6 separate regions of the Homo sapiens genome follow, and all the other regions are linked to region 1. Evidence: promoter capture Hi-C in 16 types of primary human blood cells and fetal thymus (Javierre and others, 2016). All regions are on one chromosome and are shown on one strand. The core of a region is centred on a gene start or on the middle of the fragment in contact, and the rest is flanking DNA. Distances in the headings are between cores, read along the strand shown.

What was found. Contacts are between HindIII fragments. The CHiCAGO score rates a contact against its expected background, and 5 or more counts as called.
Region 2: a contact is called between the fragment with the promoter of RABAC1 here and the fragment with the promoter of CNFN in region 1, in 3 of 17 cell types (erythroblasts, total CD4 T cells and fetal thymus). The highest score is 6.8, in erythroblasts.
Region 3: a contact is called between a fragment that was not itself captured here and the fragment with the promoter of CNFN in region 1, in 1 of 17 cell types (naive B cells). The highest score is 5.2, in naive B cells.
Region 4: a fragment that was not itself captured here is called in contact with the fragment with the promoter of CNFN in region 1 in 3 of 17 cell types (erythroblasts, naive CD4 T cells and naive B cells); the score reaches 6.5 in erythroblasts.
Region 5: a contact is called between a fragment that was not itself captured here and the fragment with the promoter of CNFN in region 1, in 15 of 17 cell types (fetal thymus, neutrophils, naive CD8 T cells and 12 more). The highest score is 13.0, in fetal thymus.
Region 6: a fragment that was not itself captured here is called in contact with the fragment with the promoter of CNFN in region 1 in 17 of 17 cell types (naive CD4 T cells, naive B cells, fetal thymus and 14 more); the score reaches 21.3 in naive CD4 T cells.

What each region holds. Positions count from the first base shown.
Region 1 is chr19:42,387,151-42,392,243 of GRCh38, forward strand. CNFN (cornifelin) reads right to left here and starts at 3,147. Exons shown (of 4, transcript NM_032488.4): 1 at 3,090-3,147; 2 at 1,776-1,889; 3 at 190-326; 4 at 1-92. The coding sequence starts at 1,887. The coding sequence ends at 3. RefSeq lists silencers at 55-234, 255-434. The HindIII fragment of the contact is 9,287 bases long and covers 1-5,093 here.
Region 2 is chr19:41,956,389-41,961,481 of GRCh38, forward strand. RABAC1 (Rab acceptor 1) reads right to left here and starts at 2,933. Exons shown (of 5, transcript NM_006423.3): 1 at 2,849-2,933; 2 at 2,348-2,560; 3 at 1,898-1,995; 4 at 630-731; 5 at 295-546. The coding sequence starts at 2,904. The coding sequence ends at 458. RefSeq lists silencers at 2,141-2,210, 2,661-2,910 and an enhancer at 3,021-3,310. The HindIII fragment of the contact is 29,553 bases long and covers 1,909-5,093 here.
Region 3 is chr19:42,005,069-42,010,161 of GRCh38, forward strand. It overlaps GRIK5 (glutamate ionotropic receptor kainate type subunit 5), which reads right to left. Exons shown (of 20, transcript NM_002088.5): 16 at 1,577-1,742; 17 at 655-880. Among named protein-coding and RNA genes, the nearest start is that of ATP1A3, 13 kb to the left of the region's middle. The HindIII fragment of the contact is 1,642 bases long and covers 1,200-2,841 here.
Region 4 is chr19:42,028,066-42,033,158 of GRCh38, forward strand. The region is part of intron 12 of GRIK5 (glutamate ionotropic receptor kainate type subunit 5); the gene reads right to left. Among named protein-coding and RNA genes, the nearest start is that of ATP1A3, 36 kb to the left of the region's middle. RefSeq lists an enhancer at 3,917-4,689. The HindIII fragment of the contact is 1,873 bases long and covers 1,887-3,759 here.
Region 5 is chr19:42,095,446-42,100,538 of GRCh38, forward strand. POU2F2 (POU class 2 homeobox 2) reads right to left here. Exons shown (of 15, transcript NM_001394376.1): 6 at 4,271-4,376; 7 at 4,082-4,173; 8 at 637-798; 9 at 343-484; 10 at 100-248; 11 at 1-17. Among named protein-coding and RNA genes, the nearest start is that of ZNF574, 22 kb to the left of the region's middle. The HindIII fragment of the contact is 9,200 bases long and covers 1-5,093 here.
Region 6 is chr19:42,112,065-42,117,157 of GRCh38, forward strand. All of the region lies in intron 5 of POU2F2 (POU class 2 homeobox 2), which reads right to left. Among named protein-coding and RNA genes, the nearest start is that of POU2F2, 18 kb to the right of the region's middle. RefSeq lists an enhancer at 2,247-2,406. The HindIII fragment of the contact is 3,421 bases long and covers 1,080-4,500 here.

The DNA.
Region 1 (5,093 bases), core at 1,897-4,396:
CCTTACTCTCGGATCTTCAGTTCCCGCGCCATCTGGCAGAGGGCGCAGGGCAGACAAAAGGTGAGGGCCGCCCAGTCGTGCCCGACGGAGCCCTAGAGGGTAGGAGAGAGCGGTCAGGAGCCCCGCGGTGGGTCCCAGGAGGCCAGTCCCCAGCTCCCTGCTCCCGCGGGTCCCCAGCCCGGCGCGCACCTGGATGTGGTAGCGCTCCCGCATGCCGGTGCGGATGGAGTGCAGGCCTCCGGGCAGGTAGGGCGCGCAGCAGCACTCGCCAAAGTCGTCGGAGATGCGGCAGGCAAGGCACAGAGGAGCAAAAGTGCCGCACAGACCTGGGCGGGGCGCAGGCGCTCAGGGGCGGGGCCAGCCGGGGCCTCCCGACGGCTCCGCCCCGGGGGGGGCGCGGTTGATTCGCCGCGGAGGGGCATTGAGGGTCCCAGCCAAGGAGAGGTCCCAGAGGGAATTAGAGGTCCGAGGAGAGGATGGCTTAGCGATTGGAAGGCAGGGTTTTTCTTTTTTTTTTTTTCTTCTTTTTTTTTTTTTTTAGAAATTGGAGGCTGGGTGCAGTGGCTTACGCCTGTAATCCCAGCACTTTGGGAGGCCTAGGCGGGAGGATCACGAGGTCAGGGGTTTGAGACCAGCCTACCCAACATAGTGAAACCCCGTCTCTACTAAAAATACAAAAATTAGCCGGGCGTGGTGGTGTGTGCCTGTAATCTCAGCTACTAGGGAGGCTGAGGCAGGAGAATCGCTTGAACCCGGGAAGCGGAGGTTGCAGTGAGCATAGACTGTGCCATTGCATTCCAGCCTGGGCGACAGAGCAATACTCCGTCTCAAAAAAAACAAAAAACAAAACAAAAAAAAAAACGAAAGAAAGAAAAAAAAAGAAAAAGAAATTAAAGTCTCGGTCTGTCATCCAGGCTGGAGTGCAGTGGTGTGATCACATGTCTCACTGTAGCCTCGACCTCCTGGGCTCAAGCAATCCTCCCGCCTCGGCCTCCCGAGTAGCTGGGACTACTGGTGTGTGCCACCACCTCGGGCTAATTTTATTTTTTATTTTTATTTTTGAGACGGAATCTCGCTCTGTTGCCCAGACTGGAGTGCAGTGGCGTGATCTCGGCTCACTGCAACCTCTGTCTCCCGGGTTCAATCAATTCTCTTTCTCAGCCTCCCGAGTAGCTGAGTTTACAGGCGCCCGCCACCACGCCCGGTTTTTTTTTTTGTATTTTTAGTAGAGACGGGGTTTCACCATCTTGGCCAGACTGGTCTTGAACTCCTGACCTTGTGGTCCACCTGCCATGGCCTCCCAAAGTCCTGGGATTACAGGCGTGAGCCACTGCGCCCGACCTATTTTTTATTTTTATTTTTGTAGAGATGGGGATCTCATTATGTTGCCCAGGCTGATCTTGAATTCCTGGCCTCAAGGGATTGTCATGCCTTGGCCTCCCAAAGTGTTGGGATTACAGGCATGAGCCACTGCACTGGGCCAGGAGCTAGGGTTTGAAGAGGGAGTTGGGGGTCACAGTGAGGAAAGCTGAGCATGCAAAGGGGAGGTTGAGGGCCTGATAAGTTGAGTGTGGGAAGGCATGAGGTAGTATCCTAAGGAGTGTTGGGGGTCTGAGGAAAGGGTGACTGTTAGAGTGGGAATTCCAAGTCCAGGGAAGGGAGGTGGGAGTGGGGTTAGCAAGCGGTGGGAGGAGGTTGGAGGTGAGCTTCCCTCTCCTGATTCCCCCCAAACCCATCTTCCACCAGGCCTGGAGAGGGAGCAGGCAGGCACTCACAGACAGGCATGTCGTTGCAGCAGTCCGTGAGACCTGTGTGCCAGTCACTGAGCTGGGTCTGGTAGCAGCTGGTGGTGGCGCACTGGGGCTGACTGGTCACAGGGTAGGACATAGCTGCAGAGGTGGGAGGGTAGGGGTCAGCTGGCAGCCTCGCAGCATCTCCTGGGCCCCGCACTTCGGCCACCCTTCCCTGTGCCGGGCAGTCTGGGCGGGGCCGCCAGGCCGCCCACTGAAGGGACACCACTGTGCCTCCCCCTTCCCTTCTGCTACATCTGGGCACCGGCAACCCCAGTCTGTCCCTGTTGCTGCTGGCTCCTGCACGTCTGGTTAGGCTGGGGGTGGGGGTCTCCTGCACATCTGAGGAAGGGTGGGGACCACATCTGGGTGGGGCCTGGCGGTGCCGCCTCCTCCTCCACGTCTGGGCCTGGGTTCTGGGTTGCAGCATTTCTGGGGCCTCTGGGGTGGAAGCAGGCGCCGTCTGTCTTCGAAGCAAGGGTGCCCAGGGGAGGGAGGCGGCCAGGTTCCAGTACTGAGAGGGTTGCTGGTCCACCCAGCGGTCCCACCTTTGCCTTTCACGTTGTCGTGCATCTCAAACTGCATCTTGCTGGCCCTGAGGAGGTGGCGTTGGGGACGGCAGAAGTGGCTGTGGCAACAGTGGCAGAGTCTGTCCAAGGGACGCTGGATACTGGGGAGGTGGGGGCAAGGGACTGGGGCACTGGGGGCTGGGCTCTCAGGGGGAGGGGAGCTGGGGAGAAAGAGGCCAAGTCAGCCTGTCAACCAGGAGAGACATGGAATAGGGAATGGATAGGGCGGGGGCGAGAAACTCGCCCATGTCTTTCCAACTGCCCGACAGATTGCAGAGGACCCTCCCCATACCCGAGATAGAGCTTGAGGGAGAACAAGAAATGGAGATGGACAGAGTCAGAGACAAGGGGAGAAAGATCAGAGCCAGGTGCCCGTAGAGATGTCACCAGTAATGCCCACATGTGCCCAGCACTTTGACTCCTCTGCAAGCCCATCTCACAGATGAGCACTGAGGCTCAGAGACATGAGGAGGAACGCCCCACGTCTGACGGCCCAGGCCAAGGGGGTTCATAGAGGTGATGCTGGGCCCCAAGACTTCTAAATTCAGCTCAGCACACCCCAGTTAAGAAGGACAGATTTGGGGGCATTGGGAAGGACAGAGATGTCCCGAGAGACCGACAATCAGCGATATGAAAGGAGACAGAGTGATATGAGTGGGATGAGGAGGAGGGAGAACAGAGCAGAGGCGCCCAACCTCAAAGAAGAGGGCTGCGGAGGGGATGTTCCTACCTGCAGGATCGCGATGGCAGTGATGGAGGCAGACGTGTGGAGACACGGGCACTGACTTCTCCGTCTCAGCCCAGAGCCACTTATATGGGCGGCCACGCAGCCCTGGGCGGGGCTCTGACAGAGGTGCCCAGGGAGCCAAGCCGGTCTGATCGACCCTCTCCCCACACTGGGATTTCCCGCCCTCCCTCTCCACTCCCATCCCCCCACTTCTCCTCCTGCCTCAGCTCCCAGGACCCAGGGAAAAGAAGGTGGCGGGGGGTGGGAGGTTTGGCGGGGGCGGGGGGCCACAGCCGGGTCAATGCGCAGAGACCAAAAGAGAGGGAGAGACAGAAACACAGTGTCAGAAAGGCAGGCAGGGAAGTCCCTCTAGACAGAAAGGAGAGAGAGGAGATTCAGAGAGATGGAGAGACGCAGGAAGATGTAGAGAGATGGAGAGGTGCCAAGAAACAGAGGGGCACAAAAATGTGAAAAGAAATAACAAGAAGAGGGGAGATGGGCCAGGCATGGTGGCTCTCGCCTGTAATCCCAACCCTGTAATCGCCTGAGGTGAGAGGATCGCTTGAGCCCAGGAGTTGAAGACCAGCCTGGGCAACATAGGGATACCCCATCTCTACAAAAAATACAAATAGAATTAGCCGGGCATGGTGGCATGTGCCTGTAGTCCCAGCTACTTGAGAGGCTGAGGCAGGAGGATCGCTTGAGTCCAGAAGTTTGAGGCTGCAGTGAGCCGTGTTCCCGCCACTACACTCCGGCCTCAGTGACAGAGCAAGACCCTGTCTTAAAAAAAAAAAAGGAAAGAAAAGGGGAGATGGGAGACAGAAGAGAGACGGAGATGGAAAAGTGGAGAGGCAGGTGGGGGGATCACTGAACAGGCTTAGAGGGCAGGGAAATGGGGAGAGGTGATGGGTGGGGAGAGAAAAAGGCCGGGTGGAGTGGGAGAGAGTGCTGTGTGGGACTCCCCTTTCAGGGTCTCGCTCATCTCTCTCAGTGATATCCCCACTTTCCTGGGAGAGGGGGACAGTGTCCTCCCCATTCAAGCCAGGAGACACATGGGGGGCAGTGTGTTTTGGGGAATGACTCATGTTGGAACCAAAGTAAATAAACACACCTCACCCCAGCTCCAAATTGGGAAGGGAGGAGGCTGGGAACTGAAAAGCCGCAGTTCCTGAAGGACGTGGACGTCACCTGGGACTCCTGGGTCCTAATGGAGCAAAGGAGTGGGGGCTTGGACCCCTGGGTCTGAGGGAGGAGGGGCTGGGGCCCTGGACTCCTGCGTCTCATGAGGCCAGGCTGCACATCCCTCAGTAGGGTAGGGGTCCTGGGATTCCACACTGCTGGGCTCCTGAGCAGGGAAGGAGCTGGGGGTCTGGGTGCCTGAATCGCCAAAGTTTCCCCCCAACAGGCCTGACGGGGTTGGGAGGTGACTCAGTGAGGGAAGCAGCATTAGAGCTGGGTGGGGTTCTCAGCACGGGTGTCACCCCAAAAATGTAGGAGGCACTAGAAAACTGGGGTGTCACCTGCAGAGAAGGTGGTGTCATCACCCCGCCGGGTATGGGGTGATGGCAGGTGGATCACCCTGCTAGCTGGGATCCCAGGTGTCCCCTCCCTCCCTCCCTCCCTCCAACACATTAGGACCCAAGCCTTGGTCTCCCAGCACCACCCAGATGGTTGGGTCTTCCTGTCCCCAGAACTCCCGGCAGCGCTCACTGTCTTGCCGGTGCACGTCCGTCATTGGTCCTAGAGCCTGGATGTCTGGGGGACATCTCCTCACTTGTGTCCTAACATCCCTGTCTCCTCATCTCTGAATCTTCGTCTCTCACCCTGCATCTTCACCTTTCCAGCTGTGAATCTGTCTTTCTTTCCTCATCTCTGCAAATCTCTTTCCAAATCTCTGTCTCTCCATCTCTGGGTCCCTCTCCTTCCAGGCTCTGTGTCTCTGTGCCCTTATCCCGGGGTCTCTGTCTCCTATGTCAAAATCTCTTCTGAATCTCGCTTCCCATCTCT
Region 2 (5,093 bases), core at 1,683-4,182, 430 kb before region 1:
AGTGCAATTGCATACTGAGTCCCCAGTCCCAGAGAACCATCAAACCTGGGGTGCTCTCTGATTCCTGAGTCCTAAAGAACCATCAAACCTGGGGGTGGTCTCGGGGACCCCCGGCACACTGTCCTTCTCAACTCTTTTCTCCTCCTGAACACTCACCACCATTGGGCATCCCATAATATTTTACCTGTTTACCTTGTCATCGTCTTGCCCACACCCCAGGTTCCACCCCAACCCTGCTCTGTGCAGTATTCCCAGCTCCACCCATAGAGACCCACAGAAGATGCTGGGGGAATATTTCCTGAATGACACCCATAACAGCTTTATTTTCAAAGGCGGGATCCCTCCCCGGGCTTGTGATGGGACGGCGCTGTGGGCCCGAGCAGCAGAGCCGTGCAGGACAGGCATGGGCAGGGGTGGGGCAGCTGGCCCGGGAGGCCGGCAGGTCCCAGAAGACACCTCACACGGGTTCCATCTGCAGCTCCTCCCCGTCCACAGCCTCAATCTGGTGGAAGGCAGCGTGGGAGCCGATGACCACCAGGGTGGCTCCTGCAGGAAAGCCGGCAGCTCAGGGCCACACTCCTGCACCTGGCTCCCACCATCCACCCCAGCTGCTCAGACCCTGTACTCACCCAGCACCCAGAAGACGGCCGAGCCCGCACCAGCCAGCCAGAAGAAGGGGAAGGAGATGCCTCCAGCCAGAGCATACTGATGCGCTGGGCTCACCTCTCGGCCTGGGGGCAGATGGCATTGGGGTGCTGTTCCGACTCTCCATGCCCTCTCCCAGAGTAACCCCTGCTGCCCCCCAACAATCCGTACAAGCTCCAGGTTCTCGGGATCGAATCCAAACTCCTCATGCCAAGGCCCTCCAGGTCCTGGGGTCACCCTGTTCCCCTGCTGTCCCCACTGCCCTCCAGAACACAGCACACCGTCCTCGCCTGCCTCAGCCCCACCCTCTGCCCTCTGCCCCACATCCTCCAGGAAGTTCCTGGGATCCCGGCTTCCTGCTCCCTAGACTAGGGCTCTCCTGCTGCAACCCTCGCGCAGACCAGGGTCTCAAACTGGTGGCCCAAGGGCCAAATCTGACCTGTGGATGTGTTTTTTGAGCTGTTTTGCAAGGATGTGATTTGTGGCTGGCAAAGTGAACGATTTCACATAAAAATACCAACTTCAGGCTTCTCATAGAAGTCTCAGGGATGGGGTCTACATGCTCTGGTGACGGTGATCAGCTGAAGCCAAGTCGTGCCTGTGCTTCAGGCACTCCCTCCACCCCAGCCCATCAAGCACATAACTTGCAGGCCCCTGAAGAGCCTGGCCTTCAGGTCTACCTAACTGTCCAATCCCAACTCCCTGACCCCACTCCAAACCTTGATTTTCCCCTGGGGGGAATTTCCCCTGGCATTTTGTTTTCCCAGTGGTCCTTGGTACTACTAGTCTGGGAACCACATGAAACATACTCCTCGGCTTCCCTCTCTAAGTTCCAAGTTCTTTCTGGTCACACCCCAGAAAGCAGGAAAAGAAACGGGAACAGATCTAGGCCAGTGTAAGGTGGCCACCTGGTGTCCAGTGTGGGCACCTGCAGCTGATGTTGGCCGCAGAGAGCGGCAAGGGGAGGAGAGAGAGGGGAGGAGTCATGTGGTTTGAAAAGGAGTAGGTTTAAGGCACAGCAGCCAGGTGGATCCTGGGTTTGAGGAATAGCAATTTGAGGGGGCTGAGACTCGATGGAAGGATCGGTTGTGTCTGAGATTTTAAGGGATCAGGTTTGGGGGATCTAGTGTACATCTAGGCTTGGGCGGACTTGGGTTTTGAAGGACTTGGATTTGGGGTCTGAGGTCTGTCTGCATTCCAAAAGACCAAGATTTGAGGGACCAAGGATTCATCTGGGCAGGGGGTTTCTCACCAAAGAGCACAAGCTTGGACTCCAAGGTGCGCAGATAGAGAATGTAACAGGCGCCGAAAAAGACAGCCAGAGCCACCAGCAACATAGGGGACGTCACCCTGGAGGAGGAGTGCAGGGAGGCAGCGGTTAGACAGCTGGGGCTGGGCCAGCCCGACGGCCCTGGCCTTCTCCACCGGCGGGCGGCAAGCTACATCCTGGAGACCAGGGAGGGCCAGGTGACATTTAGTCACACTGCATCCTGGCCAGGGTGATGGTGGGGTAGGGGACCTGGCCCTTTGGTGACAAGGTAGTCTAGCAGAGCCAATCCTTGGGGGCGGGGCCTGGGCGGTGAGAAGAGGGCCCTGGGCGGTGAGAGGAGGGACCGGGCGGTGAAGGGCGGGGCCTGAGCGGCGAGAGGAGGGGTCCAGCCGGTCGGGGCTAGTGCGGGTGCGGGGCCCGGGAGGCACTCACACACAGTACAGGATGAGGCCCAGGAACACGAACACATAGTTGCTCTGGTAGTACTCCACGTTGCGTACGAGGCGCTGGCACAGCTCTCCCAGGTTGCGGGGCCGTGAGAAGCGCTGCTGGTCCACGAAGGTGCTCCAGGGCCGGATGGTCGCGCGGCGCCGCTCCAGCCACTCCCGGCCTGCACCGGAGGGAATCAGCTTCGGCAGCAGGGTCCTGCGGGGGGTGGGGCCGGGTCAGTGGTGGACCGGGATGGAGCCCCAGACCCCCGCAAAAGAAGGGGACTAAGGGTGCCTGGACTCCCTCCCGGGACCCCAGATTCCTGTACAGCAGGCAGGGAGGGGACTAGGGGCCCAGACTCCAGGGTCCCATTAGAGGAGACCGGGGCCAACACTTCTGCGGCTCGGGGCTGGGACTCCAGGCTCTCGAGGGAGGAGGGAGGAGGGGGCCGGGGGCCCGGACTCCCGGGTCTCTGGTCCGAGGGCCTAGAGCCAGCTCGCTCACGTGCCGCTCAGCCCTTCCGCCTCGGCATCTTTCTGCTGGTCCTTCTGCGCTGCCATGTCTGCGTCGTGAGGGGTAGAGCTGCTGTAACCAGCCCGGTACCCTGAAGACCCCGCCGGCCCCGCCCGACGCCGGCCCCACCCAGCGGAGTCGACGTGGCGCAGCCCCGGAGCAGCTGGGGACTGTAGTTCTGCCGCCGAGTATTGTGGGAGTTGTAGTCCTGACGGTGACTAAGAGGATGGGCGCTATGATGGCGGTCTGACTCGCAAAACACCTTGGGAGATATAATCCCAGAAAGTGACGGCGCGCGCCTCTGGGTATTATAGGAGTTGTAGTTTCAGGAGGGTGCATGTGGGCTGTCAGGAGCGAGGGCGTTATGGGAACTCTAACGGCAGAAGCGGGCGTTGTGTACTCTCCCAGGGAAGGCACAATGGGGACCGTGCAGAGCTGTCCTTCTGACTCTAGAGGGCATAAAAAAACACCTGGAGGGCTTGCTAAAACAGATTCCTGGGCCCTAGCCCAGATGTTTTCATTCAGCAAGTCTGGGGTGGAGCCCATAATTTCCATTTCTGAGTTCCCAGGTGATGCTGATGCCCCTGGTCCATGGACTACATTTTGAGTAGAAAGATTTAGATAATTTGTGGGAATTGATTCCTTCCTCAAGAGATTGAGGCTAGTGAGGGGGCCATGGTTGCTGGAGGGGTATCTGAGGTTGCCCCCTGCCCCACCTTGTGGAGTCCCAAAGATGAATGAGTTGGGGCTAGGGACACCTCCGACCCCGCCACACACACCTTTGGAGAGAAGGGAGTGAAGTTGGGAAAGACAAAAGGTTGAGAAGTTTTGTGGGCTTTTTTGAAATGGAGTCTCGCTCTTGTTGCCCAGGCTGGAGTGCAATGGCGCAATCTCGGCTCACTGCAACCTCTGCCTCCTGGGTTCAAGCGATTCTCCTGCCTCAGCCTCCAGAGTAGCTGGGATTACAGGCGCCCGCCACCACGCCCAGCTAATTTTTGTATTTTTTTAGTAGAGACGGGGTTTCACCATGTTGGCCAGGCTGGTCTCGTACTCCTGACCTCGTGATCTTCCTGTCTCAGCCTCTCAAAGTGCTGGGATTACAGGCGTGAGCCATTGTGCCTGGCCCACAGGGCTGGAATTCTAATTGAATTCTAATGGGGTGAACCAGAACAGGGCCTCAAGAAATGTGTGTGGAAGTATAGGGAAGCCTGGGCTCCCTTAAGCAGACTGGGATCCTAATTTTCCAAAGCAGCTGGGTGGGGCTGGAAGGAAAATATCTATATGGGATAACCAGGTGACCTTTTTTTTTTTGAAAATTTTTTTAAGTAGATAAGGGATTTTGCTGTGTTGGCCCAGTAGGTCTCAAACTCCTGGACTCAAGCGATCCTTCTGCCTGGCCTTCCCAAGTATTGGGATTACAGGTGTGAGCCACCATGCCCAGGTTCAAGTGACTTTTTTTTTTTTTTGAGACGGAGTCTCACTCTGTCGCCAGGGCTGGAGTGCAGTGGCACAATCTTGGCTCACTGCAACCTCCACCTCCTCCTGGGTTCAAGCGATTCTCCTGCCTCAGCCTCCCGAGTAGCTGGGATTACAGGCGCCCGCCACTATGCCCAGCTAATTTTTTGTATTTTTAGTAAAGATGGGGTTTCACCATGTTGGCCAGGCTGGTCTCGAACTCCTGACTTTGTGATTTGCCCGCCTCGGCCTCCCAAAGTGCTGGGATTACAGGTGTGAGCCACTGCGCCTGGCCCCAAGTGACTCTTTTAGGCCCAGCTCTTGTCTTCCAAGATCTACAGCAGTTTAGGGTTTGTGCTTTGAGGCCTGCTGGAAGGTGTTCCCAGGAGGTGGGAGGAAGATGGCCCTGTCTGAGGGGCTGGTGGCGCAATAGGCAGGGAAGCCCTTTGCAAGGGCCCCACACTGAAGATGGAAGAGTTACACTTTGAAGATCAGATTGGCTAGTTACTGTTTATTTCCTCTTTGTCACCCCCAGGCTTTTAGTGGAATCAGGTTTCCTTTTTTTTTTTTTTTTTTTTTGAGATGGAGTTTCACTCTGTTGCTCAGGCTGGAGTACAGTGGCACAATGTCTACTCACTGCAACCTCCGCCTCTCGGGTTCAAGCGATTCTCCTGCCTCAGCCTCCTGAGTAGCTGGGATTACAGGTGTGCACCACCATGCCCAGCTAATTTGTGTATTTTTAATAGAGACGGGGTTTCACCATGTTGGTCAGGCTGGTCTC
Region 3 (5,093 bases), core at 771-3,270, 380 kb before region 1:
GTACATAAATGATTTTAAAAGCCAAAATGCCAAAATTTGGTGACAATTTGGTCGTGAGTTCCACCACTGAGTCCTGGAAAAACATGTCCTGGGCCATGCGAGGTGGCTCATACCTGTAATCCCAACACTTTGGGAGGCCAAGGCGGGCGACAGAGCAAGACTCCGTCTCAAAAAAAAAAAAAAAAAAAACAAAACACCAAACTTGTCCTGAAATATAAATAGGCACATACAAGTCTCCCTACCAGATCATTCCATCCTTCCCATCCATCTTACAAGCATTTTTCAAGCACCTGCTCTGAGCCAGGCTATAGGATTTTTCCAAGAAATAGGAAACAAGACCAGGTCCTCACCCCCACAGGGCCCTTGGGGGAAGACAGCAAGCCCCACCACCCACATATACTGAATTGTATACACAGTCTCACTGAATTCTCCCAACAGCTCTGGGAGGGCTGGATTGCTGCTAGGCCTGGTTTTGCAGGTTGGGGGTACAGAGGCTCAGGACGGTGATGTCGCCTGCCCAAGACCATACAGCCAGGAGGCCACATGCAACACACCCAGCCTGCCTCGGGGGTGCCTGGCCCGGTCCTGGGCCTGCTCACAGGTGGTTTTGGATGCCCACGGCCCTGCTGTGTTCCACACCGTGCTGTGCCGTACCCAGCGGCATGCCAATGCCGTAGCCCTTGGTGTCGAGGAGTCCCCCGATCTGGGTGAGGTTGCAGTTGAGGCGCCGGTGGTATTCGTTCATGGTGGACTCGAGCAGGAAGGCGTAGCGGGAGTTGAGGACGCGGGCAATGCCCTCTTCTGTGCTCTTGACGAACACGCTGGGCTGCTTCGACTGCATGTAGTTCCACATGCGCTGGTACGTTTGGTACCGTGAATTCTGGGCAGGAGGATCACAAGGGGAAGATGGGAGGGTCTTTCCAGCCGCTTCCTTTCCCCGAGCCCTTCCCATCCTCCAGGAAGTCTCCCTCAACCCAGGAGAATGCAAGGTGATCAAAGGAAGACAGAGCCAAAGGTAGAGGAGAGAGAGGAGATGGACAAACTGTCCAGGCCAGGTCCAAGTCATCCCCACAGCCACTGTGCCCACCACCCACCTGGGGGGCCCGGTGAGTGCACCTCCACCTCCTTCCCCTTAACCCTCCAGCCGGTGGCCGCTGCCCAACTCAGGCCTCCTTTAGACCACTAGGACCTCCCTGCCAAGCTTGCTTTCCTCTTCTTTCCTTCCCACCACCCCAAAATACAAAAGATCAAGCACTTTTCACCTTGAAGGGCCTTCCCTTCTCTCTGTCAGCCCATATTCCTGGTCCCGACCCTTCCAGCAGCCTCCTTGATCCCATTTGGCCCATATGACATTGACATTTGATACCACATATGCCTCCCTGCCCTCATTCCCCAGTTCCCTAGCCAGCCAGCTGCGAGCCCCATGACAGCACATGTGTGTTTTCTGCTCCCCAGCCTCCAGGCTGTCACTGACAATCAGTCCCTCTGACCCAGGAGACCCTGCCCAGACCCATCCTGAGCTGCTTTGCATGGCAGGGATCCCAACACCACGCCTGAGAGGTTCTGGTGGCCCCACCTGGAAGAAGGTCATGGTGGAGCCGGCGTGGATGGTGCCATACTCGATGTTGGTCTGATCTGCCAGGTCATCGGCCGACTCCACAGGCACCTCCATGCGCTGCACGGTGAGGAAGGCGGCCAGGTTGGCCGTGTAGGAGGAGATGATGATCAAGGTGAAGGCCCACCTGAAGGGTGGGAGGGGTGAGTCACGGGCTGGAGTCACCCCTGCTGACCTGCCCCCGTGGCCATGCCCCCCATTGGTGGTGCCCCTCCCAAGTGACCCCAGCATCTGGAAGACTCAGTGACTGCTGGGTGCAGAAGCGGGGAGTGTGGATTCTGAAGCCAGACTTCCTGGTTGTAAATATTGCATCCGGAGACTTCTACTTCCAGATATAAAAGAGTAAGATGGTCTGGAAATACCCTCCCACCATAAACAGCTAAAGAGCTGGATAGAATACAGGAAACTTTTTTCTTTTTTTTTTTTTTTTGAGACAGATCTTGCTTTGTCAGCCAGGATGGAGTGCAGTGGCACGATCTCAGCTCACTGCAACCTCTACCTTTGGGGTTCAAGTGATTCTCCTGCCTCAGCCTCCCAAGTAGCTGAGATTACAGGTGCCCACCATCACGCCCGGCTAATTTTTGTATTTTTAGCAGAGACGGGGTTTCACCATGTTGGCCAGGCTGGTCTCGAACTCCTGACCTCAGGTGATCCACCTGCCTCAGCCTCCCAAAGTGCTGGGATTACAGGAGTGAGCGACCACGCCCGGCCAGGAAACTATTTAAAACATAGGACAAGAGACATCATAGAACTGTGATCCCTGAGAAGAGAAACAAAATGAGTCTTATTGTCCAGGCTGCTTGGCTGGATTTAATTTATAGGAAGGGAAGCCCAAACAGCCCAGCAATCCTGCTGAGTTGCAGAGACGGAGACTGGTGATCAGGCAGGCCAACATGGCTGGAATTTGGGGGATAGAGTGCCTGAGAGGAGGGAGCTGCAAAGAGAGGGAGGATTCAGAAACCGGTGGTCCCCTTGAGTCTTTGGCTGAATATCAATCTGTGCATGCATGGGGTGAAACTCTGTGGGGCTGGACAAGAGCAACTTTCAAGGAGAAAACAATTCTTAGAGTTGACACAGGGCTGAGAGTCTTTTGAGCTCCCTGCAGCCAGAGTAGAAAGATTTCATTGAATACATGAGACATTCAGTAGAGACCCAAAAGTGTAACATACTAGAAATAGGATTAAGTTAGCCCTAGAATAAAGGCAATGCTAAAGCTGCACTAAAAAAGCTTAAAAACAGGCCTAGAAGTATCAAAGTAATTCACAAGTAACCTAACTAGATTCCAGAAAAAGTTTATAAATACTCTGTAAAAAAATATATTCAGCAATGTAAACAATGTCTGTTATGTAATTTTTTTTTTTTTCTTGAGACAGAGTCTCACTCTGTCACCCAGGCTGGAGTGCAGTGGTGTGATCTTGGCCACTCCCGGGTTCAAGTGATTCTCCCGCCTCAGCTTCCTGAGTAGTTGGGATTACAGGCACCTGCCAGCACGCCTGACTAATGTTTGTATTTTTAGTAGAGATGAGGTTTCACCACGTTGGCAGGTTGGCCTTGAACTCCTGACCTCAGGTGACCTGCCCACCTCGCCCACCCAAGGTGCTGGGATTACAGGCATGAGCCACTGTGCCCGGCCTATTACATAATTTTTTAAAAAAATACCAGGTTGGGCACGGTGGCTCACACCTGTAATCCCAGCATTTTAGGAGGCTGAGGTGGGCGGATTGCTTGAGGCCAGGAGTTCAAGGACAACCTGGCCAACATGGCAATACCCCGTCTCTACTAAAAATACAAAAATTAGCTGGGTGTGATAGCACACGCCTGTGATCCCAGCTACTTGGGAGGCTGAGGCACGAGAATCGTTGGAATCCAGGAGGTGGAGGTCGCAGTGAACCGAGATCACCACTGCACTCTGGCCTGGGCAACAAAGCAAGACTCTTGCCTCAAAAAAAAAGGACCAGGTAAACAAAGGTGCAGGAAAATGTGACCTATAACCAAGAGAAAAATCACTCAATTGAAACAGACCCAGAATTGACATAGATGATGACGGAATTAGCAGACAAGGACATGAAAACAGCTATTATAAATACATTCAGAATGCTCAAGAGTATAAAGAAAAACATGAACGTAATGAAAGGAACAGAAGATATAAAAAGAAGTGAACAGAACTTTTAGAGAATGATATACACATATCTGAAAGAAAAATTTTACTGAAAGGGATTACACAGATTAGACACCGGCAGCAGAAAAGATGAGGGAATTTGGGCCAGGCACAGTAGCTCATGCCTGTAATCCTAGCACACTGGGAGGCCGAGGCAGGAGGATCACTTGAGGCTGGGACTTTGAGATAAGCCTGGTCAACATAGCCAGACCCTGTCTCTACAGAAAAATAAAAAAATTAGATGGGTGTGGTGGTGCCTGCCTACAGTCCCAGCAACTTGAGAGGCTGAGGTGGGAGGATCACTTGAGGCCAGAAGTTTAAGTCTACACTGAGCCTGGTCGTCACTGCACTCTAGTCTGAATGACTAAGTGAGACCTTATCGTTATTTTTTTATTTTATTTATTTATTTATTTTTGAGATAGAGTCTCGCTCTGTCCCAAGCTGAAGCTGGAGTGCAATGGCGCGATCTCGACTCACTGCAACCTCCGCTTCCCGGGTTCAAGCGATTCTCCTGCCTCAGCCTCCTGAATAGCTGGGATTACAGGCACCCGCCACCATGCCCAGATAATTTTTGTATTTTTTGTAGAGATGGGGTTTTGCCACGTTGGCCAGGCTGAGACCTTATCTTTAAAAAAAAAAAAAAAGGCTGGGCGCGGTGGCTCACGCCTGTAATCCCAGCACTTTGGGAGGCCAAGGAGGGAGGATAACCTGAGTTCAGGAGTTTGCGACCAGCCTGACTAACATGGCGAAAACCCTTCTCTACTAGAAATACAAAAATTAGCCAAGTGTGGTGGTGCATGCCTGTAATCCCAGTTACTCAGGAGGCTGAGGCAGGAGAATTGCCTGAACCTGGGAGGTAGAGGTTGCAGTGAGCTCAGATTGTGCCACCGCACTCCAGCCTGGGCAACAGAGTAAGACTTTGTCTCAAAAAAAAAAAAAAAAAAGCCAGGCACAGTGGCTCAGGCCTGTAATTCTAGCACTTTCGGAGGCCGATGGGGGCGGATTGCCTGAGCTCAGGGGTTCTAGACCAGCCTGACCAACATGGAGAAACCCCATCTCTACTAAAAATACAAAATTAGCCGAGCATGGTGGTGCACGCCTGTAATCCCAGCTACTTGGGAGGCTGAGACAGGACAACTGCTTGATCCCAGGAGGTGGAGGTTGCTGTGAGCTGAGATCACGCCACTGCACTCCAGCCTGGGCAACAAGAGTGGAACTCCATCTCAAAAAAAAAAAAAAAAAGATTAGAGAATTTGAAGAACTGCAATAGAATCTATCCAAAATAAAGCACAGAAAGGAAAAAGTGATGAAAATGAGCAC
Region 4 (5,093 bases), core at 1,573-4,072, 360 kb before region 1:
CAAGCAATCCTCCCACCTTGGCTTCCCAAAGTGCTAGGATTACAGGCGTAAGCCACCATGCATGGTAAAAGACCTATTCCTTAGAGATGACTTCCCCACCCTGACATATACCCTCTAGCCCCTACCCTGACGGGCCCCCTCACAGTTATTTAATCTCTGAAATGAAATCAGGAAGAATTTGAATGACAAGTCACCTGTAATGATGGGGGGGGGGTGTCATCTAAATGCCCAAAGCCAATCAAAGCACTTGTGATAGTCCCTCAGCTCCCAACCCATCCTGTATACCCTGTTCTGTGTAAACCATATTCCTGCTTTGCCTGCTGCGCCCTGCCAGGCTCTGCCAATAGGGGGCGCTAGCGGGAGGTTGCCAGACTGAGGAGGGAAGAGGGATTGCTCCTTCCTGTCTCCTCTCCCACCCCAGCCACCTTCTGCCCCTCCTGGCAGCATCGTTTCTTCTCCTGGCAGCAGATGAATCCGGTGTGCAGCTTCCCAATATCTACAAACCCATCTCATCCAGCCTCTCTCCAGAACCCAGCACCAGCTGTAAGCACCTCTCCCCAGGGTCTGACTTTCAGCTCCACAGAGCCCTTCCTCTAAGTTTCCAAGAGTTTCAGCTCTTCCCTTTCTTCCTTCAGAACTAGGGATGTGGCCACTTCCTGCCATGATACCTCCATGACACCTGAGAGTGAGGGGTGGGAAAGCTATGGCCCTTGGGCCAAGTCCAGCCCATCTGCCTGCCTTTGTACATAAAGTTTTATTGGAACACAGTGATGCCCACTATATTGTCCATGACTACTTTCCATACAACAGAAGAGCTAAGGAGTTATGACAGTAAGGCCTTAAAGCTGAAAATACTTACACTCTTGGCCAGAAAAAGCTGGCTAGGTCAGTGCAGTGGCCCATGTCTATAATCTCAGCACTTTGAGAAGCCAAAGAAGGAGGATTGCTTGAGCCCAGGAATTCAAGACTAGCCTGGGCAACACAGTGAGACCCCATCTCTACAAAAAAAAATTTTTTTTTTGAGACAGAGTCTTGCTCTGTAGCTGGGCTAGAGTGCAGTGGCGCAATCTCAGCTCACTGCAACCTCCGCCTCCTGGGTTCAAGCAATTCTCCTGCCTCACCCTTCCAAGTAGCTGGAACTACAGGCGTGTGCCACCATGCCCAGCTAATTTTTGTATTTTTAGTAGAGACGGCGTTTCACCATGTTGGCCAGGATGGTCTCGATCTCTTGACCTCGTGATCCGCCCTCCTCAGCCTCCCACAGTGCTGGGATTACAGGCGTGAGCCACCGAGCCTGGCTGCTACAAAAACTTTTAAGAATTAACTGAGCATAGGTGTTTGAGACCAGCCTAGCCAACATGGTGAAACCCCGTCTCTACTAAAAATACAAAAATTAGCCAGGCTTGGTGGCAGGCGCCTGTGTAATCCCAGCTACTTGGGAGGCTGAGGTTGCAGTGAGCCGAGATCGCGCCACTGCACTCCAGCCTGGGGGACAAGAGTGAGACTTCGTCTCAAAACAAACAAAAAAACCCTAGAGGTCTGCACCATGAGCTAGCCACTGGTGCTTGCTCAAGGCTCCATACAGCATTCCTATTTGCCATCAATACTTTGCGAATGAATCTCCCGATCTGCTGGTTACATCTGGCCCAGGTGGCAGATCAGCTCGCATGCAGCCTGGACTGGCTGCAGAGTCTTTGATGCTCTGGACCTCACTCCAGATGAAAAAAGCCTTACGGGCTGTAGGGAAAGTAAATGGATTGAAGTAGCACATCCCAATGTGGTATGAGTTGCCACCAAAATCCAAAAAGTCCACCAAATGTCACATCATCAACCAAACAGCACCCCCTCCTCAGCAGTCTGTCTCAGCTCTGTGGGGCCCTCCTCTAAGCTTCTAAGTTTTCATCTTTCAAACTCTTCTACTTGTCCCTTAAGGACTAAGTGTGGTAGCTGCTTTCTGCCGTTGCTACTGCCATGACCTCTTAGTTTTCTTTTTACCCCTTAAGTTAGCTGGTTAACAACTTTACATTTAGTTAACAATTCTTTATACTAAATACTCTCTATTCAAATAACTGATATGATTCTATTCAAGTAAATGGAGCTGGGTTTTGTTTTGTTTTTATTTTTGTTTTTGTTTTTGTGACAGAGTCTCGCTGTCGCCCAGGCTGGAGTGCAGTGGCACGATCTTGGCTCACTGCAACCTCTGCCTCCTGGGTTCAAGCGATTCTTGTGCCTCAGCTTCCTGAGTAGCTGGGATTAAAGGTGCGTGCCGCTGAGTCTGGCTAATTTTTGTATTTTTAGTAGAGATGGGGTTTCACTGTGTTGGCCAGGTGATCCACCCACCTCAGCCTCCCAAAGTGCTGGTATTAGAGGCGCGAGCCACCGTGCCCAGCCAGGGTTTTGTTTTTGTTTTTCAGACAGGGTCTTGCCCTGTCACCCAGGCTGGAGTCCAGCAGCGTGATCATAGCTCACTGTAGTCTCGAACTCCCAGGCTCAAGTGATCCTCCCACCTCAGCCTTCCGAGTAACTGTGACTATAGGCATGTGCCATGCCCAGCTAATTTTTTTTTTTTTTAATGTTTAGTAGAGACAAGGTCCTGCTATGTTGCTGAGGCTGGTCTTGAACTCCTGAGCTCAAGCAATCCTCCTGCCTTAGCCTTCCAAAGTGCTGGGATTACAGGCATTAGCCACTGCATCTGGCAACCGGCGCTGTTTTGTATCCAGACTGGACCCTGCCAGACTGGACCCTGCCAGACTGCCATCTGCCAGGTTTAATGCCAACTGCACTGACTCAACTACTTCCTGCTCATCAGATCTGATCAGCATACTGTTGTCAATGTAGGGGACCAGTGTGAGGCTATGTGGACTGTAGAGTTCAAGTTCTTTGCAGCCTAAATCAGGACAGAAAGTGGGAAAGTTGATGTCACACTGAGCAAGACTGTGAAGATGTGAACCTTGCCTTCTGGTAGCCCTTGGAAATTGGTATGGAGAAAAAAGCATCTGCCAGGTTAGTAGCTCACACCAGCTGCCAAGGGCTGTGCTGACTTGCTCCAATAGAGAAACTTCATTTGGGACAGCAACTGCAATTGGAGTCACCCCTGATCACGTTGACAATAATCCAAAGTCATTCTTCCAAAATCCATCTGCCTTCTGTACAGGCCAAACAGGCCAGCTGAATGTAGATGGGATCACTACCCCTGCTTCTTCCAAGCCGTTAATGGTGACACTAATTTCCACAATTTGCACAAAGGATAGAGAATTGCTTTTGAATTACTATTCTGGGAAAGACAGGGAGTTCTAGGAGCTTCCACGTGGCTCTTTCTACCATAATGGCCCTGACTCCATGGGTCAGTGCGCCAACGTGGGATTCTGCCAGCTACCATGTGTGTCTATTCCAGTTATACAACCAAGAACTGGGAAAACACAGGGTGGGACCATGGCCCCATCAGGCCCCTTCTGAGTTAACCTGGGCTCAGATTCCACCAATCACTTGACCACATAAGTCCCACTGTGTGGTCTACCAGTCAAAGCAGGAAAAATCAAAATGATATGCCATCCATGAAAATGACAGGGAGTTGTCTAAGTAGCTAAAAGCCGATAAAAACACTCAATGCTGAGAAGGAGCCTATATAGAAACTGTTGTAGTCTTTCTGGAAAATAATTCAACAAAATATCACGAAAGCCACAAAAAGGGTATTCTTCTTCCACCCAGTTATTCTGTTCAGAGAACCAATCCTAAGAAAATAGGCTGCAATGCAGGCAAAGCTTTTGTGCATAAAGATGCTTGTTGGCCAGGTGCAACAACCCATGCCTGTAATCGTAACACTTTGGGAGGCCAAAATGGGTGAACCACTTGAGCCCAGGGACTCAAGACCAGCCTGGGCAACAAAATACAAAACAATTAGCCAGGCATGGTGGTGCACACCTGTAGTCCCAGCTACTCAGGAGGCTGAGGTGGAAGGAGCACCTGAGCCTGGGGAGGTTGAGGCTGCAGTGAGCTGTGATGGCACCACAGCACTCCAACCTAGGCAACTAAGTGAGACGCCAATCTCAAAAATAAAAAAAAGATGTTTGTTAATGATTATTTATAAGAGCACAAACAATAAAAACACCTGGAAACAACTAGTTATGAAAAATGGCTAAATAAATTATGGTACATCCACATGGAATTACTACTATGCAGCCAAGTAACATTCTGTTTAGGTTAAAACAATGATATTATATTTGGCCTTTGAGATGGGCAAAGATTTTATTTTAGAGATTGGTAACACTGACTGTTGGCAAGAGTATGGGAAATTTCACATTCTCATGCACTTTGGTAGGAATATAAATTGGCGAAGCCTTTTTGAACAGCCATTTGGCAGTATACACTTAGAAAAAATTTATACCCTTTGACCCAGCACTTTCACTTCTTGGAATGTATCCCTCAGGAACACTCCCACAAATCCACAGGCCAAGTTTATCATGACACTGGCTATGCTAGCAAAGCTGGAAGCCATCCAAATAGCCATCAATAGGGGATATGGTAAATAATTCATGCTGAGCCACACAATGGAATCCTTATATCCTCACTTGAATTTTAAGCAGGCATCTCAAATGATCCGTGACCAGAGAAAACTCTTGTTTCCCGGCCCCAGCAAACTGCTCCTCCCATGTCCTCCTTATAGTGGAAACTGGCCTCGCCATTCGCCAGCTGCCCTGGCCAAACCCCATAGTCACCCCGATTCCTCTCTTCCTCTTATGCACATCCAAGCTGGCTGCACACCTGACACAGCTGCCACTCAAACCAAGGCAACATCTTCTCTCATCCACACCCTCCAACAGCCTCCTAAATGGACCATTCAGTTTCTACTCTTGTCCCACTAAGGTGTTCCTCAAGACAGCAGCCAGTGCAATCATTTTTAAATGATTTAAAAATTAGATCCTGCTGGCCTATGCATACAATGGAATATTATTCAGCCATAAAAAGGAATGCAGGCCAGGCGCAGTGGCTCACGCCTGTAATCCCAGCACTCTGGGAGGCTGAAGCGGGTGGATCACGTGGTCAGGAGATCAAGACCATCCTGGCCAACATGGTGAAAGCCTGTCTCTACTAAA
Region 5 (5,093 bases), core at 1,756-4,255, 290 kb before region 1:
GAGGTAGGCTTCTGGTTCTGCAGGCAGAGGGCTCGTTAGCCCGAGGCCCACCGCCCGCCACCCCTCAGGTGAGGGCCACCCAGGAGAGGGGGGCCTCACCGCTAGAAAACTCTTCTCTAAGGCGAAGCGGACGTTTGTCTCGATGCTGGTCCTCTTCTTGCGTCTCCGGCCGGGCAGGCCGTCGAAACCCAGGCTGGGGCTGCTCAGCTGGTTGGGGCTGGGCAGGCTTGAGTCCACAGACATAGTCTCTGTGCGCCGGGGGAGACGTGAGCATGAGAAGGGGCCTCCCGCGGCCAGCGGCCACTGCCCGCCCCCTACGCGGGAACCCCAGCCTGGTCCCACCTGCATCGTTGAGCCACTTCTCCAGGAGGGGCTTGAGTTTGCACATGTTCTTGAAGCTCAGGTTGAGGGCCTCGAAGCGGGAAATGGTCGTCTGGCTGAAGTCGTTGCCGTAGAGCTTGCCCATGGCCAGGCCCACATCACCCTGGGCCAGTGGGGCGGGGAAGGGCCCGAAGTCAGGGTGGGGCCTTCCGGCACTGGGCCCGCTCCGCCCGCCCACTGGCCACGCCCCTCGCGGCATCTATCAACTGGCCACGCCCCCACGCCCACCGCCCAGCCTGCAAGGTGCCTCCAGACCTGCGTGAAGCCCAGCTTGATGCGGCGTTGCTTGAAGGTGCGGGCGAATTGCTCCAGCTCCTCCAGATCACTGGGCTCCTCGGGGTGGGATGGTGGCTCCAAGCATTTGGGGGGCTGCGGGTGCGAGAGGTGCGGGTCGGGCAGCGTAGGGCGGGTCACGGCCTGGTGGGGTGGGCAGGTGGGTGGGATGCAGGGCGGAGGACCAGGATGGGGCTCAGCGATGGGTGCACAGTCCCCCTCCCGCCCTCTTCGCCCCTGCGTTCCATCCGCCGCCTGCAGACTCCCCCCGCCTTCCTCCACAAGCACCGTCAATCCCTTTAAAGGTCCCTCCACATGCACTGTTAATCCCTTTAAAGGTCCGACTCTGCTGCCCTACATGGGTTTCCTCATTGCCTGGGACTCTCTGCACTGTCCCTTCACGCCTGCGAACTCCCAGAAGGAGCAGCCAGCTTTTTGTGCCAGGGCTCTTTCCCTGGAGCTGGAGGCAGTGGTTCATCCTCATCTCAACCTGGGAATCAGGGACTGGCCCTGCCACCAAATCACTGCTTAGCCCAGGCCTCACTTTCCCCCTCTGCAGGATGGGAACAATCACTGCTGTTCTGTCTACCCAGTGGGGCTGTTGAGAGAATCGGGTTAAAAATGAGTAGGTCGTGCAGACCCATGGACTGTACAATGCCAAGAGTGAACCCTAATGTCAGCTATGAACTTTGGGTAATAGTGATGTGTCAATGTAGGTTCATCACCTGTTACGCTTGTACCACTCTGGTTGGGGATGTAGATGATGCAGGAAGCTGTGCATGTGTAGGGGCAGAGATAGATGGGATATCTCTATATCTTCCACTCAGTTTTGCTGTGAATCTAAAACAGCTCTTAAGAAATTAAGTCCTAAGCAATGAGTAGATTGCAAATAAAGTAAAAGTTAAGAAAAAAAAAAAAGGACTGGGAGGGCAATTAGAGAGATTTACAAAAAAGCAACAGCTCTATCTGGGATTCTTCATTGCCCTAACAATAAAGGATATGAAGCAGGTGGTGGGTACAGGGATGTTTGTCGCTCAGGTCCTTTATCCATTATTCTCCAAAATGCTGGGGCAGATGTTTAGGAATTTTTCAGTTTTTTTTTTTTTTTTTTTTTTGAGATGGAGTTTCACCCTTGTTGCCTAGGCTGGAATGCAATGGTGCGATCTTGGCTCACCATAACCTCTGCCTCCTGGGTTCAAGTGATACTCCTGCCTCAGCCTCCCGAGTAGCTGGGATTATAGGCATACGCCACCACACCCGGCTAATTTTGTATTTTTAGTAGAGATGGGGTTTCTTCATGTTGGTCAGGCTGGTCTCGAACTCCCGACCTCAGGTGATCCACCCGCTTTGGCCTCCCAAAGTGCTGGGATTACAGGGGTGACCACTGCGCCCTGCCTTTTTTTTTTTTTTTGGTATAAATTTAAGGACAGCCGAGTGCAATGGCTCACACCTGTAATCCCAATACTTTAGGAAGCCAAAGTGGGAGGATCGCTTGAGCACAGGAATTTGAGACTAGCCTGGGCAACATGGCGAAACCCTATCTCTACAAAAATTTTAAAAATTAACCAAGCATGTGGGGCGTGACTGTAGTACCAGCAACTCAGGAGGGCTGGGGACTGCTTCACTTGAGCCCAGGAGGCTGAGGCTGCAGTAAGCTGTGATCACACCACTGCACTCCAGCCTGGGTGACAGAGTAAGACCCTGTCTCAAACAAAAAACAAAATGTTAAAAGATACAAGTGCAATTTTGTTACACAAATGTATTGTGTAGTGATGAAGCGTAGGCTTTTAGTGTATCCATCACCCAAACAGTGTACATTGTACCCATTAAGTAATTTCTCATCATCCACCCACTCTCACCCCTCTCAGGTTTTGTTGTTGTTGTTGTTTTAGAGACCAGTCTTGCTATGTTGCCCAGGCTGGCCTCAAACTCCTGGGCTCAAGTGATCCTCTTGCCTCAGGCTCACAAGTAGCTGAGACTATAGGCATGCACCACCGTGCCTGTTTCAGTTTTCAGAAAACCTACATAGGCAGCCAGGCACAGTGGCTCATGCCTGTAATCCGAGCACTTTAGGAGGCCGAGGCAGGTGGATCACCTGAAGTCAGGAGTTCGAGACCAGCCTGGCCAACATGGTGAAACCCCATCTCTATTAAAAATACAAAAATTAGCTGGGTGTGGTGGCGCATGCTTGTAATCCCAGCTACTTGGGAGGCTGAGGTAGGAGAATCGCTTGAACCTGGGAGGCAGAGGGTGCAGTGAACTGATATTGAGCCAATGCACTCCAGCCTGGGCAACAGAGCGAGACTCCATCTCAAAAAAAAAAAAAAAAACAAAAAGAAAGAAAGCCTACATAGGATGTATATCATAGATAATGTGGCCCGGCCCCCACCCCCACTAGGGTCAAGAATATTACTCCTTAATCAGATACAGTAACAGTTTTGCAGCAGCAAAAATGCCATACCAAGAGGGACAAAGAAAAGTCATACACTGGCTTATATCATGGCAGGGCAGGTTTTGCAGTCAAATGAGTTCTCATGCCAATGGTGGAAGAACAACTTGACTTTCTGAGCATTTGGGATTTCAGAACTGCAGTTAAGACCTGTATTAGTCTCTAACTCTTCAGTCAGTCCTTCTGAAATAGTTCACATATATTTTTTTAAAGGGCTATAAAAAATGGGTAGAAAAAAACTTTGAAATTCATAAAAGGTAGTGAAAATTATCATTAAAGTCTAGAACTCAGGCAGCAAACTGAAAGAAAGGCCTCGGGGTCCAGGTGCCAAGGTGGCCTGGAGAGCTGGCACCCTCTCTAAGGGGCCTCTGCTCCTGCCAGTGGCCAGGCCAACTGCTCACTGCGCCAAGCCACCACGTAGACACAGGTACAGCCCTGCCAGATTTTCTGGTTTATCAAGAGGAGCTGGAAATGTGGTGCTTTCTGGGAATTTAGTTGACAATGACCAAATAAAAGACACCTGTGGGCCTTGTTTTCAGTCTCCAGTCTGGGAAGTGGATGTGAAATAATCACCTAACGAATGCCTTGTTCAGAGAATCCTCCGTTGCAGTGCTGGAAGAGGCCCGAGGCATTTGCAGCCTAAAGGCTTGCAGCCCCTTGCAATTTTGTGTGTTTTTACACATGAGCATTTTGGGGGAATGGGGATCAGATCTAAATCTTTCATCATATTCTCAAAGGAGCTCATGTACTAGAAAGGGTTAAGAACCACTTGTCTGGGCCAGCTCCCCTCATTCTATAGAGGAAGAGGCTGACCCAGACAGGGAGATGGGCTTGCCTGAGGTCTCACAGCAAATCACTGGCAGAGTGTGGCTGGGTCAAATGGAAAGGAGACTCTCACTCATCCCCCACCCCCGTTTACCCAGCTTTCAGCAGGCCTTGCTGCTGGCCTGGCCTGGTGCACTCAATGGACAGTCTCACCTGTGTGGGAAGCCCGGCCCGGGGCTGGGAGGTCAGAAGAGCTCCCTGGGTTTGCTGAGGTAGCTGGAATAGATTTGGTGTCGGTAGCAGGCCTGGAAAGACAAGGGGAAATACACAGGGTGAGGGGGAGGGGAAGGTGAGGAAGTTCTGTGGAGGCGTCAGGGAGGCCATCTGGGGTGGGGGCCTTACCTGGCTGGCTCTGCTGGGCCTGCGGTAGCAGGAACTGAGCAGGTGGCTGGAGGTGGTGGCCTGGCACAAGCACCAGCTGCTGGAGCTGGAGGAGCTGCTGTATGTCCTGGCAGGGAGTGGGGTGGACAGAAAGATAGCCTGAGTCCTGGCTGGGTTTCATCCTCTCTGCATCACCTGAACCTTGAGGGGCTGAAACCAGGAAGCTGCTCCACATGGCGATCTGGCACTGGGCAGTGAGGGATCGTCCACTCGGTCTCTGAATGGCATCCCTGAGCTAAGGGCACCCAGAGGCTTCTCTCTACCATGGGGTACCAGAGAGTCCCAACTGGGCAGTCCTGGGAGGGCTCACTCTTTATTTACCCTTTCTTTCTTTTTTTTTTTTTTTTTTTTTTTTTTTTTTGAGTCTCGCTCTGTCGCCCAGGCTGGAGTGCAGTGGTGTGATCTCGGCTCACTGAAATCTCCGCCTCCTGGGTTCACGCCATTCTCCTACCTCAGCCTCCCAAGTAGCTGGGACTACAGGTGCCCGCCACCACTCCCAGCTAATTTTTTGTATTTTTAGTAGAGACAGTTTCACCATGATAGCCAGGATGGTCTCAATCTCCTGACCTTGTGATCTGTCCGCCTTGGCCTCCCAAAGTGCTGGGATTACAGGCGTGAGTCACCGAACCCGGCTACCCTTTCTTTCTTGATGAAATATTTTCCTTGTTTTAACATTTCCGCAGAACAAATAGAATCATTTAAAAATGTAAGCCAGGCCGGGTGTGGTGACTCATGCCTGTAATCCCAGCAATTTGGGAGGCTGAGGCAGGCGGACACACCTGAG
Region 6 (5,093 bases), core at 1,540-4,039, 280 kb before region 1:
GCTAAAATTCCAGGACAGACAGGCAACAGCAGATCCCAACCCAGGAACCAGTGGGAGCAACTGGCATGCCTGGGCCAGGCTCCTGGACTCCAAGGCCCTGTGGATGAACTGACCACACACCTCCAGGTGGGCAGTTTTGATTGGCCTGGTACCCACTGCCCCTTCTTCAACTTATTCAAGCAACAGAACCCATCTCTTTCAGGGGTTACACTTTCCCATCCTCAAGTCACGAGGTCCAGGTAGGGCTGACCTTGCCTTCTCTGGGGTCGAGGGCAAGGGCTCAAATCTAGCCAGGGGACGTGTTTTTGTTTGTTTATTTTATTGAGACAGAGTCTCACTCTGTTGCCCAGGCTGGAGTGCAGTGGCACGATCTTGGCTCACTGCAGCCTCCACCTCCTGGGTTCAAGCAATTCTCTTGCCTCAGCCACCCGAGTAGCTAGGATTACAGGCGCATGCCACCACGGCCGGCTAATTTTTGTACTTTTAGTAGAGACGGGGTTTTACCATGTTGGCCAGACTGGTCTTGAACTCCTGACCTCAAGCGATCCGCCCACCTCGGCCTCCCAGAGTGCTGGAATTACAGGCCTGAGCCACCCTGCCCGGCCCAGGGGACGTATTTTATCTCCCTGGGCAGGATAGCTACAAGTCTGGAAATGCTGACACCCATTTTACCTGCCCTACAATGAAACAGGGAGACAGACCCCTGGAGCTGGGCCTGATATTCCAGACCAGGCCTTTTCAGTGATCTGAGCCAAATATTCCTGAGTCTTCTTCAGCCACCTGGACTTGGGCTTTGGCTCCTCCCTCCCAGCTCATCCATCCCTATTTGTGCGGCTACAGCCTGCCCTGTTTTCTCACTTTGCACTTGCCATTCCCACAGCCTGGAAGCCCCTTCCCAGCAAACTCCTTCCCATTCCCCTGAGTTCAGATCCCACCTCCTCCTGAAAGCCTGGACAGATGTGGGTCCTGATTCCCTCAGACACACATCACATTTCTCTTCCCACATTCCCATCACACTCAGTTGGTTTCTTTGGGAAACTTTCACTCGCTAGGTCGTAGCAGCCTAAAAGATTTTGTCAAGCTTTATTTGCCATGGTCCTATTAGGAAAATAGGAAATTTTCCCCCCTACTCTCCAATATAAAATGATGTTTTAACTGTTAACGTAAGTTTTCAATCAATGCCTGCCCCTACCCCAGACATTCTGAAATACTTCCCTGGAGAGATATCTCTCCTATCCTTGATTGAAAATCTGCCGCAAAACATCCCTCATTGATTCGGTAAATATCCACACAGCCCCCTCGGCAGAAGGCAGCACACTGAGCAATGGACAGACAAATTATAGAACTGTATTATAATTGCCCCTTCGTCTGTACAAGCTAGGAGATTGCAGGGAAGGATCCTGCCAAACTGTTTAACCAGCATTTACTTTGGAAGCTGACATCAGAGGGCTGGAAGGGGGGCTTTTCCTTGGTACTTTATATAATTTCAAAGGGATAGCATTTATGAGTGTTTTTTACTCTCTTTCCTGGGCTTCTTAGTATCTTTCAAGTGAAACATTTCTTAGTGGCTCACTGATGTGCTTGCTCCACTGCAGGACGGGGAGCCCCTCAGGGGCAAGGATGGCTGTGACTCACTCCTAAGTCTTCAGCTTCCTGCCATGGCCTGACACACAGGAGGCCAGGAAATGTTTGTGGAATGACTGCAGGATCAGAGCTTAGCAGGCATGAGAAGTGGACTGGGGGGTGGAGGTCATGAGATGCGGCCCGGGAGAGACATCCGAGCCTAGGAGCCGGGGAAGGCTGGAGCAGTGGGTAGGTAAGTCAGGAAGAGCTGGTCCCTCTGCAGCCTGGGCCCAGCACAGTGCCCATAGGAGGTGCTGTTGTAGAAATGACGTCAAAGGGCAACTCAGTTTGTGAGAGAGAATTCCCAGAAAACAAACTTGGCCCAGCTTTGCACTTGTTGAAGACAGAAAGGGAAAGATCAGAGCTGAGGGAAGCTGGGGAAGGAGGAGTGAGAGGAAAGGAGGAGGGGTTTAAGGAGCCCTTGACAATCAGGGCCTGGGCTATACGGCAGGTGGTGGAGGCTCAGCTTGCTGCTGCTGGGTCCCTGGGGAGCTGGGGGAGGTGGCTCTAGGAGTGCATAGGCAAGAATGTCTGCTGCTCACAGAGATGGTGGCCTGGCTGGGTCTGCGCTAGGCTGCCCTGTTCTGCCTTCTATCCTCTAGTCTTTGTTCCTTCAACTGATATTTCCTCGAGCAGATTCAGGCACGGCTGGGGGGAGGGAAGTCATCATGACTTCCTAGAGGTGTGGACTCCTGGGCTGGGGCTCAGATGAAGAGGAACTGTCCAGGTAAAGGAAGGGAGCAGACTTCCCGGGAAAAGAGAGAACAAGAGCAGGGCCACTGAGATGCAAAAGAGCTCAGCCCCAGTGAAGAGCCCCAAGCCCTTGGCGTTGCTCAGTAAAGGGCTGTCTATGCTACAAGGCAAATGGAACACCTGCTGCTGGAGTCTCTGGTGGCCGGGGTGGGAGGGGCTAGAAACCATGTTCCGTGAAGGACAGCTAAAAGCAGCAGCCGCGGATCATGTGGTTAGAGCCCTGGACTTCCAGGCCGGCTCTAACACTCATGCTTACAGAATAATCTGGGGCAGGTCACTTTACCCCTTGGAGCCTCAGCTGTGGGGAGGATTCATGGGAGCAAAGAGGCCATCACTGGCATGGTGCCTGGAAGAAAGGTGGCACCCAACAGACTAGTTACTGTTACTTCAAGAGCCAGGTATTGAAAGGCTACATCTGGGCTGAGCACCGTGGCTCATGCCTATAATCCCGCACTTTGAGAAGCCAAGGTGGGCAGATCGCTTGAGCTCAGGAGTTCAAGACCAGCCTGGGCAACATGGCAAAAACCTGTCTCTACAAAAAATATGTATATATAAAAAAATTAGCTGGGTGTGGTGGCATGCACTTGTAGTCCCAACTACTCAGGAGGCTGAGGTGGGAGGATTACTTGAGCCCAAAGAGGTCGAGGCTGCAGTGAGCCATAATCCGCCACTGCACTCCAGCCTGGGCAGCAAAGCAAGACCTCATCTCAAAAAAAAAAGGCTACATCTACAAGAGCCATCACGGAGCCATGCGCCCAGTTTACAGAGTGTCTCCACAGAACCAGGCCCAGTGGAAGGAAGTTCTAAGGAGGCAGGTTATCAGCTCAGTGTTAAGGAAAGTCCCAAATGGGAGCATTGGCCAATAATGGAACGGGCCATTATTGGGGTGAACTGTAACAAGGGAACAGCCTTACCAGGGCTGGACAGCTCCCTGCATGGACAGCATCTATATCTAGGGTTCTGTGGAAGTGGTTGGACGGAGTGAGAGAAAAGCCTTTTGTGGAGCAGTCACTGAGGGAAACGCCAGGCTAAGGGAAGTTAAACAGGTGGCTTTGCTGTAGGGCTTCCCACGACCTTCACTGCCCTGAAACTTGGCCACAGCTCTAAGGCTTATGAAAACCAGACAGACAACATGAATGGGTGAAAACCAGACAGACAACATGAATGGGTGACATGGGAAGGGGTGGACAGGAGTGGGCTGGAGACAGCTGCCCTTCGGAAGAGGAAGCCTACTCAGCTCCCACTCTGCTCCCCCGGCTGTCCTTATGGGAACTCTGTTGGCCACTGTTAGGGGTTAAATTGTGTCCCCAAAAAGATATGTGGAAGCCCTCACTCCTGGTACCTGTAAATGTGACCTTATTTGGAAATAGGGTTGCAGATGTAATCAAGTTAAAATGAGGTCAATGGGGTGGGCCCTAAACTAATGACTAGTGTCCCTACAAGAAAGAAAAATTTGAATACAGAGACAGGTGCACAGAGAGAAGATGGCCATGTGACGACAGAGGAGGCAGAGATTGGAGTGAGCCATCTACTAAGCTATGGAACACCAAGGATTGACAGCACCATCGGAAGCCAGAAGAGGCAATGACAGATTCTCCCTGGGAGGCTTCAGAGAGAGCACGGCCCTGCCGATACCTTGAGTTTGGACTTGTGGTTGGAGACAATATGTTTCTGTTGCCTTAAGCCACCCAGTTTATGGTATTATGTTACGGCAGCCCTAGGAAACTGAGACAGCCACTAATTCATGATTAACTATGGACCAGCAAAAGCTCCAGAGTCAGGGAGGTGATGGAGAACCTCCTAATTCATAGATCACGGGCCCCTTTTTTGAAAGAGCATCTTGTTGGATAAGCCAGGGGACACGATGAGGGTAGGGCACTCATTCTTATTCTTAACCTTTTGTTTTGTACCCACATGGTACCATTCACGAGAGTGACTCCTGGTTTCCTTACCTGTATGTTGAGGACAACAATCTCAACCTCCCAGGAGGCTGTGAACTCCCAGCGAGATGCACAGGAAGCACTGCCCCCAACACACCACCAGAGGGAGGATTATGATGTGGGATATTCCTCCCTGTGAGCCTCACTTTACCCCTCTGTAAGATGGGACAGCAACATCTTCCAAAGCTTCCTAGGGTTGCTAGGAACTGCCTGGCATGTGGCTGGTGGTCAGAACAGTCCATGTGGACCAGTCAGCCCCTTCCCACACACTCACTGTTTCTGCATGTCCTTCACTGCAGGGAGCCTGGTCCCCAGTGGCTGCCCTTACCTGTGCTGTGAGCTGGATGGGTTGGGACAAGGTGAGCTGTGGGGTCCCAGGGGGCTGGCTGGCAGGCTGTGGTGGTGGCAGGTCACCCCCCCCAGAGGAGGCTGGGGGCTGTGAGGTCGAGGAGGAGGCAGAGGAGGAGGAGGAGGAGGAAGTAGAGGAGGAGGCGGAGGCGGCGGCGGCGGCGGCAGCGGCGTTAGCGGCAGCGGCGGCACTGGACTGCTGCACGGCGGCGGCCAGGAGCTGGGCCTGGGCTTGCTGCAGGAGGAGCTGCTGCTGAGCTGGCATCAGTGCCGTGAGCTGCGGGGTGTCGGGGACAGCAGGAATTGGAGCAAGGGGTTGAAGAGGAGCAGAGAAGGCAGAGAGGGGTTAGTGCCTAAGCCAAGCAAGTAAGGGGACAAGACCTCCTAGAGGACAGAAGAGGGCAAGAGGCAGGTGTGAGAGAGTGGCCA